Linked DNA regions of Homo sapiens: regions 1 and 2 are each linked to region 3. The links are contacts of gene promoters, found by promoter capture Hi-C in human tissues and cell types (Jung and others, 2019). All regions are on one chromosome and are shown on one strand. The core of a region is centred on a gene start or on the middle of the fragment in contact, and the rest is flanking DNA. Distances in the headings are between cores, read along the strand shown. Region 1 overlaps SCUBE2 (signal peptide, CUB domain and EGF like domain containing 2). Region 2 has its middle 36 kb from the start of SCUBE2. Region 3 holds the start of DENND5A (DENN domain containing 5A).

Region 1 (3,042 bases), core at 77-2,576, 200 kb after region 3:
TGAGCCTTCATGCCTGGCCCTACAGTTACTTCTTGATGTGTCTGTTTTAGATGGTAGCTTTTAACTTCCTATTATGAAAGACTAGGATTTAGCTCTCACTGCTTCCCCCCGCAATACACACACACACACACCTGACCTCTCCCTATACCCTTAATATTGTTGTCTCACAATTTAAATCAATATTATGTGCTTACATTATTCTGACTTTGAATATCTAAATACGATTCACCTGAGTCATGTAACGTGCTATGATTATATTTTCTTTGTTTGCTTAGTTTTCTAAGTACCTCTTACCAATTCTTTTGCAAATTTCAGACAAAGCTGTAAAATACTTTTCAATGTGTTCAAATATAGTGTAGGTAACTAATCAAATCAATTTTCTTGGTGAAAAAGTTTCCTCGGAGGCTTCCAGCCTGCCCTAGCAGGGCCTGGCTGTCTTGGCTGAGTGCATGTCTCTCATCTGGGCATTCACCATCAGCCTACAATTCCCTTTGCCGCTCTCCTGTTGGGTGGATCCTATGTCTTGTCTCTCATTAGTTTATCCGGCGAATGAGATAGAGGTATTTAAAAATTTGCATGCCTGAAAATGCCTTTATATTCTACCTGCACCCTTTATTGAGAATTTGGCTCAGTGTAGAATTCAGAGTTGGAAAGAATTTTCCATCACTGTTTTGAAGTTAGTGCTCCATTGTTTTCAAGAATGCAGAGTTGTTTTGAGAAGTCTAAAATCATTTTTATTCTTGATCCTTTGTGTGAAACCTGTGAAAGCTTCTCTCTGAAAGCTTCCAGGATCTTCTCCTCCTTCCCAGTGATCTGAAGTTTTACAATAATGTTCCTTATTGTGGGATTTTGCCCACCTATTTTTAGTACTTTTCAATATGAACATTCAAGTCCCTTTGTTCTGAGAAATTTTCTTACATTCTTTTCTTTGATAAATTTCTTTTTCTTTCTTTTTTTTGAGACAGAGTCTTGTTCTGTCGCCCAGGCTGGAGTCCAGTGGTGCAATCTTGGTTCACTACAACCTCCACCTCCCAGGTTCAAGTGACTTTCCTGCCTCAGCCTCCCCAGTAGCTGAGACTACAGGCACATGCCACCATGCCTGGCTAATTTTTTTTTTTGTATTTTTAGTAGAAAAGGGATTTTGCTATGTTGGCCAGGCTGGTCTCAACCTCCTGGCCTATGTGACCCACCTGTCTCGTCCTCTCAAAGTGCTGGGATTACAGGCATGAGCCACCGCACCCGTCTTCTTTGATAAATTTCTTCACTCCATTTTCTCTGTTCTTTCCCTCCGGAACTCCTGTTAGCTGGCTGTGGTAACTCCTGGATTGACCCCCTAATTTTTTTTTTTTTCTTTTCTCTCCCTTGTATTTTTATTCTTTTTCTTTTCTCTCCTTTGTATTTTTGTTCTACTTTCTAGGAGAGTTTTCATTTTTTTCTTCTAATCTTTGCACAGGATAAAGTTTTCGTTTTCATGTTTTAATTTTTCAGGCATTTTACTTTGGCCTTTGGTTTTAGGAACCTGCTCTTATTTCATGGATGCTTTTCTTGTCCCCCTGAGGAAATTAATTACGAGATTTTAACTCCTCTTCTGTTCTCTAGATTATCTTTGTTTCCTCCAGGTTTCTTTTTCCCCGTTGGTTTGATCTGGTATATTCATTCCGTATTAGAGGCTTTCCAGAAATGTCTAGTGATTCTTGACCGACTTTTCATATTTAACAGTAAAATACTAAAAAGCCAATTGGATATTCTATTGATTTGTGGGCTTCATGTTTGGGTGACGAGGCAGTGACATAGCCATTTCATCTGGAGATCCTCGAATGCTAATATCGTTAGGTCTTTTTGCTTGGGCAGGTCAATTTAGCCGGAGAGGAGTCCTTCAACCACCTGCCTGTAGGCTTGGCTGCTAGCATCCTGGGTTGCAGTGTTGTTTCAACATAGCTTTTTGGAACTTTCAATGGCTGTTATTTTAACATAGCTTTTGGAATTTTCAATGGCTTTAAATCTGCCAGTAGGGAGCTGAAGGAGTTGGGGGAAGAGGGATGAGGGTTAGAGATCTCTTTTTCAGGGTATAGACTTTCACCTGATGGTGACACCCTCTCCTCCTCTGCTATTCCTGGTGCCCTTGAGCCTGGTACCTCTCTGGTCCAGACTTCTCTGCTATAGCCAGAATAGGAGAAGGGTAGTCACATGACTATGTGGAGTTAAGGAGGAGCTCTGGGGTTTATCTCTTTCATATGTAGACTCTCCATAATCTTCCTGTTCTTAACTCCGTCCTCATTTCTGCCTCTAGAATAACTTGATACCTCCAATTCCTGAGTCTTTCTGGGACTCTGGGGCTCACAGGAGTTTACCAGCTGTTGGCACCCCCTCTGCAGACTGCTAGGATCTAGCTTTCTTCTACGCCAGATACTGCTCTCCTGCTAACATGTCACTTCCAGAATGTTTGACATCTTTTATCTATTGTCTTTTCTCCTATTTTCTTTGTCCTTAAGGATTTATACTTTAAAAAATCAATTGATTCTCATATTCGTGAGGTTTTGAAAGGAACAGAGATAAACATACATGTACTATCTGCATATTTAATTAGGATTAAGCTTGTTCCCTTTAGGGTTCCTTCTTTTTTTTTTTTTTTCTTTTCTTTTCTTGAGACAGGGTCTCGCTGTATTGCTCAGGCTGGAGTGCAGTGGCACAAACATGGCTCACTGCACCCTTGACCTCCTGGGCTCAAGTGATCTTCCTGCTTCAGCCTCCCGAGTAGCTGGGACCACAGGTGTGCGTCACCAGGCCTCGCTAATTTTTTAAAATTTGTGTAGAGATGGGGGTCTCACCACGTGGCCCAGGCTGGTCTTGAACCCCTGGGCTCAGGTGATCCTCCTGCCTCAGCCTCCCAAAGTGTTGGGATTACAGGGGTAAGCCACCACCCTCGCCACCACCCCCCACCCCCAGCCTTTAAAGTGAGGTAGCTATGGTAGAAAAATCATGTTTCTGGGTGCCTAGATGCTAACAATTCAATGAATGTTGAATAGCACTTGTCTATTACTT
Region 2 (2,784 bases), core at 254-2,753, 140 kb after region 3:
GTGCCAAGACAATTCAATGAGAGAAATAATAGTCTTTTCAACAAATGATGCCAGGACAACTGGATATCCACATGCAAAAGAATAAGGTTGGACCTTACTTCACATTACATACAAAAATTAACTCAAAATGGATTGATGATCTAAATGTAAGAGCTAAAGCTATATATAGGCATACATCTTTATGACCTTAGATTAGGCAATGGTTTCTTAGCTATTACATTCAAAGCACAAGCAACAAGCTGGGCACAGTGGCTCATACCTGTAATCCCAGTACTTTGGGAGGCCAAAGCAGGAGGATTGCTTGAGGTCAGGAGTTCAAGACCAGCCTGGTAAATATGGTGAGACCCCAATCTCTACAAAAAAATAACAAATTAGGCCAGGCCCAGTGGCTCACACCTGTAATCCCAGCATTTTGGGAGGCTGAGGTGGGTGGATCACTTGAGGCCAGGAGTTTGAGACCAGCCTTGCCAACATAGTGAAACCCTGTCTCTACGAAAAAAAAAAAAAAAAAAAAAAAGCAACAAACAAAATTGGACTTCTATAAATTTATGTTTATTTTATTTTTATTTATGTTTTATTTTTCCATAGGTTATTGGTGTACAGGTGGTGTTTGGTTACATGAGTAAGTTCTTTAGTGGTGATTTGTGAGATTTTGGTGCCCCCTCCTTCCCCACAAGTCTCCAAAGTCCATTGTATCATTCCGACGCCTTTGCATCCTCATAGCTTAATCCCAACATATCAGTGAGAACATATGATGTTTGGTTTTCCATTCCTGAGTTACTTCACTTAGAATAATAGTCTTCAGTCTCATCCAGGTCACTGCAAATGCCATTAATTCATTCCTTTATATGGCTGAGTAGTGTTCCATCATGTATACATACCACAGTTTCTTTATCCACTCATTGATTGATGGGCATTTGACTTGGTTCCACAATTTTGCCATTGTGAATTGTACTGCCATAAACGTGCATGTGCAAGTATCTTTTTCGTACAATGACTTCTTTTCTTCTGGGTAGAAACCTAGTAGTAAGTTTTTTAAGGAATCTCCACACTGTTTTCCATAGTGGTTGTACTAGTTTACATTCCCAGCAGCTGTGTAGAAGTGTTCCTTGATCACTGCATTCACGCCAACATCTACTGTTTTTGATTATGGCCATTCTTGGAGAAGTAAGGTGGTATCACATTGTGGTTTGGATTTGCATTTCCCTGATAATTAGTGATGTTGAGTGTTTTTTTCATATATTTGTTGGCTATTTGTATATCTTCTTTTAAGAATTGTCTATTCATGTCCTTAGCCCACTTTTTGATGGGATTGTTTATTTTTTTCTTGGTGATTTGTTTGAGTTCATTGTAGTTTGTGGATATTAGTGCTTTGTCAGATGAATAGATTGTGAAGATTTTCTCCTACTCTGTGGGTTGTTTACTCTGTTGACTGTTCCTTTTGCCATGCAAAAGCTCTTTAGTTTAAGTCTGAGCTATTTATCTTTGTTTTTATTGTATTTGCTTTTGGGTTCTTGGTCATGAAATCCTTGCCTCAGCCAATGTCTAGAAGGGTTTTTCCAATGTTATCTTCTAGAATTTTTATAGTTTCATGTCTTAGATTTAAGTCCTTAATCCATCTTGAGTTTATTTTTATATAAGGTGAGAGATGAGGATCCAGTTTCATACTTCTATATGTGGCTAGCCAATTATCCCAGCACCATTAGTTGAAAAGGGTGTCCCCCGCTTTTTGTTTTTGTTTGCTTTGTCTAAGATCAGTTGGCTCTACACACACAAAAAAAAGCATGAGCAACAAACAAAACTAGACTTCCATAAATTTTAAAACTTTATGTTTCAAGGAACACTGTTCAAGAAAGTGAAAATACAACCTATAGAATGAGACAAAATATGTGTAACTCATATATCTGACAAGGGACCAGTATCCAAAAAACATAAAGAACGCAGTAATAAGAGGACAACGCAATTTAAGAATGGGCAAAGAATCTGAAGAGACATTTCTTCAAAGAAAATGTACAAATGACCAATAAGCATGTGAAAAGATGCTTAACATTGTTAGCCACCAGGGAAATGTAAATCAAAGCCACGATGAGATACCACTTTATACCCACTAGAATGGCTATAAGCAGAAAAACAGATATAAGTGTTGGTAAGAATGTGGAGAAACAGGAATTCTCATACATTGCTAGTGGAAATGTAAACGAGTGCAGCCACTTTGGAAAATAGTCTGGCAGTTCCTCAAAAGGTTGAACATAAAAGTTAGTTTATAACTCAGCAGTTCTAGGAATCAGCCCACAGGAAATGAAAACACATGTTTACACAAATGCTTGTACATGAAAGTTCATAGCAGCATTATTCATAATAGTCAAAAGGTAGGAACAACACAAATGTCTATCAACTGATGAATGGATTAACAAAATGAGATGTTATTCGGCCAGATAAAGAATTAAAGTACCAATACATTCTGCAACGTGGATTACCCTTGAAAAGACCATATATTGTATGATTCCACTTATGCAAAATATTCAGAAGAGGCAAATCTGTAGAGGCAGAAAGAGAATAGGGTTGTGTTGGGCTGGGGAACAAATGAAGAGTAACTACAGTAAATATGGGATTTCTTTTTGGGCTGATAAAAATGTTCCAAAGACAGCTATGGTGATGGTTTGCACAACTCTGTAAATATAATAAAAACCATTGAATTGTATACTTTAAATTGGTTAATTCTATGGTATGTGAATTATTATTATCATTATTATTATTTTGAGACAGAGTCTCACCCTATCACCC
Region 3 (2,700 bases), core at 101-2,600:
GCCTGTAATCCCAGCACTTTAGGAGGCAGAGGAGGGCGGATCACCTGAGGTCAGGAGTTCGAGACCAGCCTGACCAACACGGTGAATCCCTGTCTCTACTGAATACAAAAAATTAGCCGAGTGTGGTGGTGCGCGCCTGTAATCCTAGCTACTTGGGTGGCTGAGGCAGGAGAATCACTTGAACCTGGGAGGCAGAGGTGCAGTGAGCCGAGATTACGCCATTGCACTCCAGCCTGGGCAACAAGACAGAACTCCGTCTTGAAAAAAAAAATCTGTAATATTTACTGAGTGATTTCCATGTTCCAGGCAGTATTCTCATTGTTTTACCTGTACTTGCATTTACCTTATGTAATTGTCTCAAAAACCATGACGCCAGGCACTTAGAGATTAACTTGCTCAAGGTCAAAAGTAAATGATCGTCAGGATTGAAATCCGAGCATTTTTTTCTAGAGCCCATGCTAGTGACCACTATACCTGTGTTGCCTTTCTGGCCTCTGATCTCCAGTTTCCAACAAAGACACATCTGCCTAGCTTCTATGGGAAAGGAAATCGGAGGGTCCTAGGACAAGGACCAATAGGTAAGTTTCCCTTCGCCTCCTCCCTATCCTCTTACAGGAAAACAGGTTTAGGGGTGGATCTGAGAGTTTTCACAGAGTGAAGAGGAAGAGGAGCTCCCAAATGGCAGGCGCCTCTGGAGGCTTCCAGAGAAAAAAGGAGAGAGCGTGGGAAAAGGGCAGGCTGGGAGGTGGGAGCGGCGAGGAACGGGGAGCTGACCACAAGCCCAGGATTCCAGACCAGGCTTATGTCTCTTAGACTCAGCGTAACCTTGGATAAGTCCTTGCTTCTTTCTGAGACTCAGTTTCCCCGTCTGTAAAATAAGGGTAAATATAAAACCGGCTCATCCGCCCCTGCCAAAAGAGAGGACAGGGAGAAGGCCCTGTCTGGGGTCTAGGCTGACACGCTGCAGCTAGGATTAGGTGAGCTTCCGAGCTCAGTCGTGAGACCCCATCCTCATGGCAAGGCCGCGCTAAGATCTCTGGACCTCTGCTTGCTGGGTGGGTGGTTGGGGGCAGAGCATGGGCCAAATGCCCGGCTCTGCAGGCTGCGCCCACTCTTCTCGCACCTCCTCAGCCCTCCCTAAAGGAGTCTCAATCCCGGGGGAGTGGCAGTTGCGGGCGACCAAGCAGTCACCGGCTGCGCTGCGGCGACCTCCCGGGAAGCTGCGGCCGGCGGGGTCCGAAGAGCATCACGTCATCCTTTCCCCCAGGAGCCCGCCCCCTCCCAGACGGCGCCTGCGCAGGCGCGGTAGGAGGAGGGTCACGGTGGGGGCTGTCCACGCGCTCTCCGCCCTTCTCCAGGCTCGCTCGGGCCGCGGCGCTCTCGGCTAGCTGCAGCGGCGGCGGCGCGGAGGGGAAGGCATCCAGGATGCGGTGCGGGGCGGCCCGGTGCCCCCCCGCCCCGTCACGGCAGCCGCGGCGGCCGAGGGGACCGGGCCAGGGCCGGGGGCGGCGGCCCGAGCCGCGGTAGCGGCGGCGGCGGGAGGGGCGGCCTGAGGGCGGACGGGCGGGCGCCCGGGTTGCGGGGGCTCGGTGCCGCTCCGCACTGCCCGGCCGGTCTCGGCCCCGGCGCCATGAGTGGCGGCGGCGGCGGAGGGGGCTCGGCGCCCAGTCGCTTCGCCGACTACTTTGTCATCTGCGGACTGGACACGGAGACCGGGCTGGAGCCGGACGAGCTGTCGGGTGAGTGCGCGCCGAGCCCGGGGCGCTTTCCCGCGCCCGCTGTCGTCGGGGACCCCAGAAGAAACCTTCCTTCAGCCCCGCTTTGTCCCGGGAGCCGGGCGAGTGTCGGCCGGGAGGACCAGGGCGGGCGCGGGCGAAGGGGGCTTTGGACTGGAGGGGGGAAACGGATGAGGGGCTCTGAGCCATGAGGGGTCCAAACCTACGGCCCGCTGCGCAGTGGCCACGTCTTCGGCGACCAGAAAGAGGGAGGGTTGTGTGTTCTCAGTTTGGTGTAGGTTGAGTGACTTCGTTTAAAATAAAGGAAAGCTTGTCCTCTGGCACCCATTAGGGAGGGAAGGCGTCCCACGTCCTAGTGAAAGTAAGTTCCACCCAGACTTAAAAAAAAGGAAAACAAAAACTTGGTGAGTTTATCTGGCCACTTCCCAAGAAGCTTGTGATACTAGTTCCTCAAAACCGTTATACCCCAGCCCTGGGCTGGGCCCCCTGAGTCAGATTGCAGCTCTGCGCGTCTGGATGGGATATGAAGTAATAAAGTGAACTTGGGCGGCACCAAGAAGAGTAGGAACTCCCTTAGCCTTGGAAAGGGCTTGTATCCCGGGGCCATGCCTTTTTTGAAAAGTAATTTATGTCCTTTATGAGGACAGAGGCGTTTGTGAATAAAAGGGTAGCAGCATTGTAGTTGGAGAGGCTTGGTGTGTTCTGATGCGTTTCAAGTCATATTTGAAAGGGAAAGTGATGAGGGGAGTCAAAGATGGGGCCCTGACCAGATTTGGCACTCACTGCAGAAGGCCGTGAAAATTATACAGTCCCCGTGAATTTTCCACTGCACTGTCATTGGAGTCTTTGAATTGTAACAGTTTTGAAAATAAGTTTTTGTCTGGAGTTTCCAGTTAGTGGGTTTCAAGTGGGTGGAGGTTTGTCGGGTTGTACTTTAAGGTTGTGTCATCCTGATGAGGGGGAC

The links. The method cuts DNA at HindIII sites, captures the fragments that hold promoters and counts their contacts. A contact is called where the count stands out against the background at its distance.
Region 1: a fragment that was not itself captured here is called in contact with the fragment with the promoter of DENND5A in region 3 in 1 of the 25 tissues and cell types used here (hippocampus).
Region 2: a contact is called between a fragment that was not itself captured here and the fragment with the promoter of DENND5A in region 3, in 2 of the 25 tissues and cell types used here (IMR-90 fibroblasts and hippocampus).

Annotation. Positions count from the first base shown.
Region 1 is chr11:9,061,162-9,064,203 of GRCh38, reverse strand. The region is part of intron 7 of SCUBE2 (signal peptide, CUB domain and EGF like domain containing 2); the gene reads left to right. The region is part of intron 2 of NRIP3-DT (NRIP3 divergent transcript); the gene reads right to left. Among named protein-coding and RNA genes, the nearest start is that of MIR5691, 28 kb to the left of the region's middle. The HindIII fragment of the contact is 3,919 bases long and covers 1-3,042 here.
Region 2 is chr11:9,126,217-9,129,000 of GRCh38, reverse strand. No RefSeq gene overlaps it. Among named protein-coding and RNA genes, the nearest start is that of SCUBE2, 36 kb to the right of the region's middle. The HindIII fragment of the contact is 6,465 bases long and covers 1-2,784 here.
Region 3 is chr11:9,264,000-9,266,699 of GRCh38, reverse strand. DENND5A (DENN domain containing 5A) reads left to right here and starts at 1,350. Exons shown (of 23, transcript NM_015213.4): 1 at 1,350-1,739. The coding sequence starts at 1,631. RefSeq lists enhancers at 1,049-1,118, 2,199-2,318, 2,479-2,700 and silencers at 1,399-1,498, 1,549-1,908. The HindIII fragment of the contact is 15,544 bases long and covers 1-2,700 here.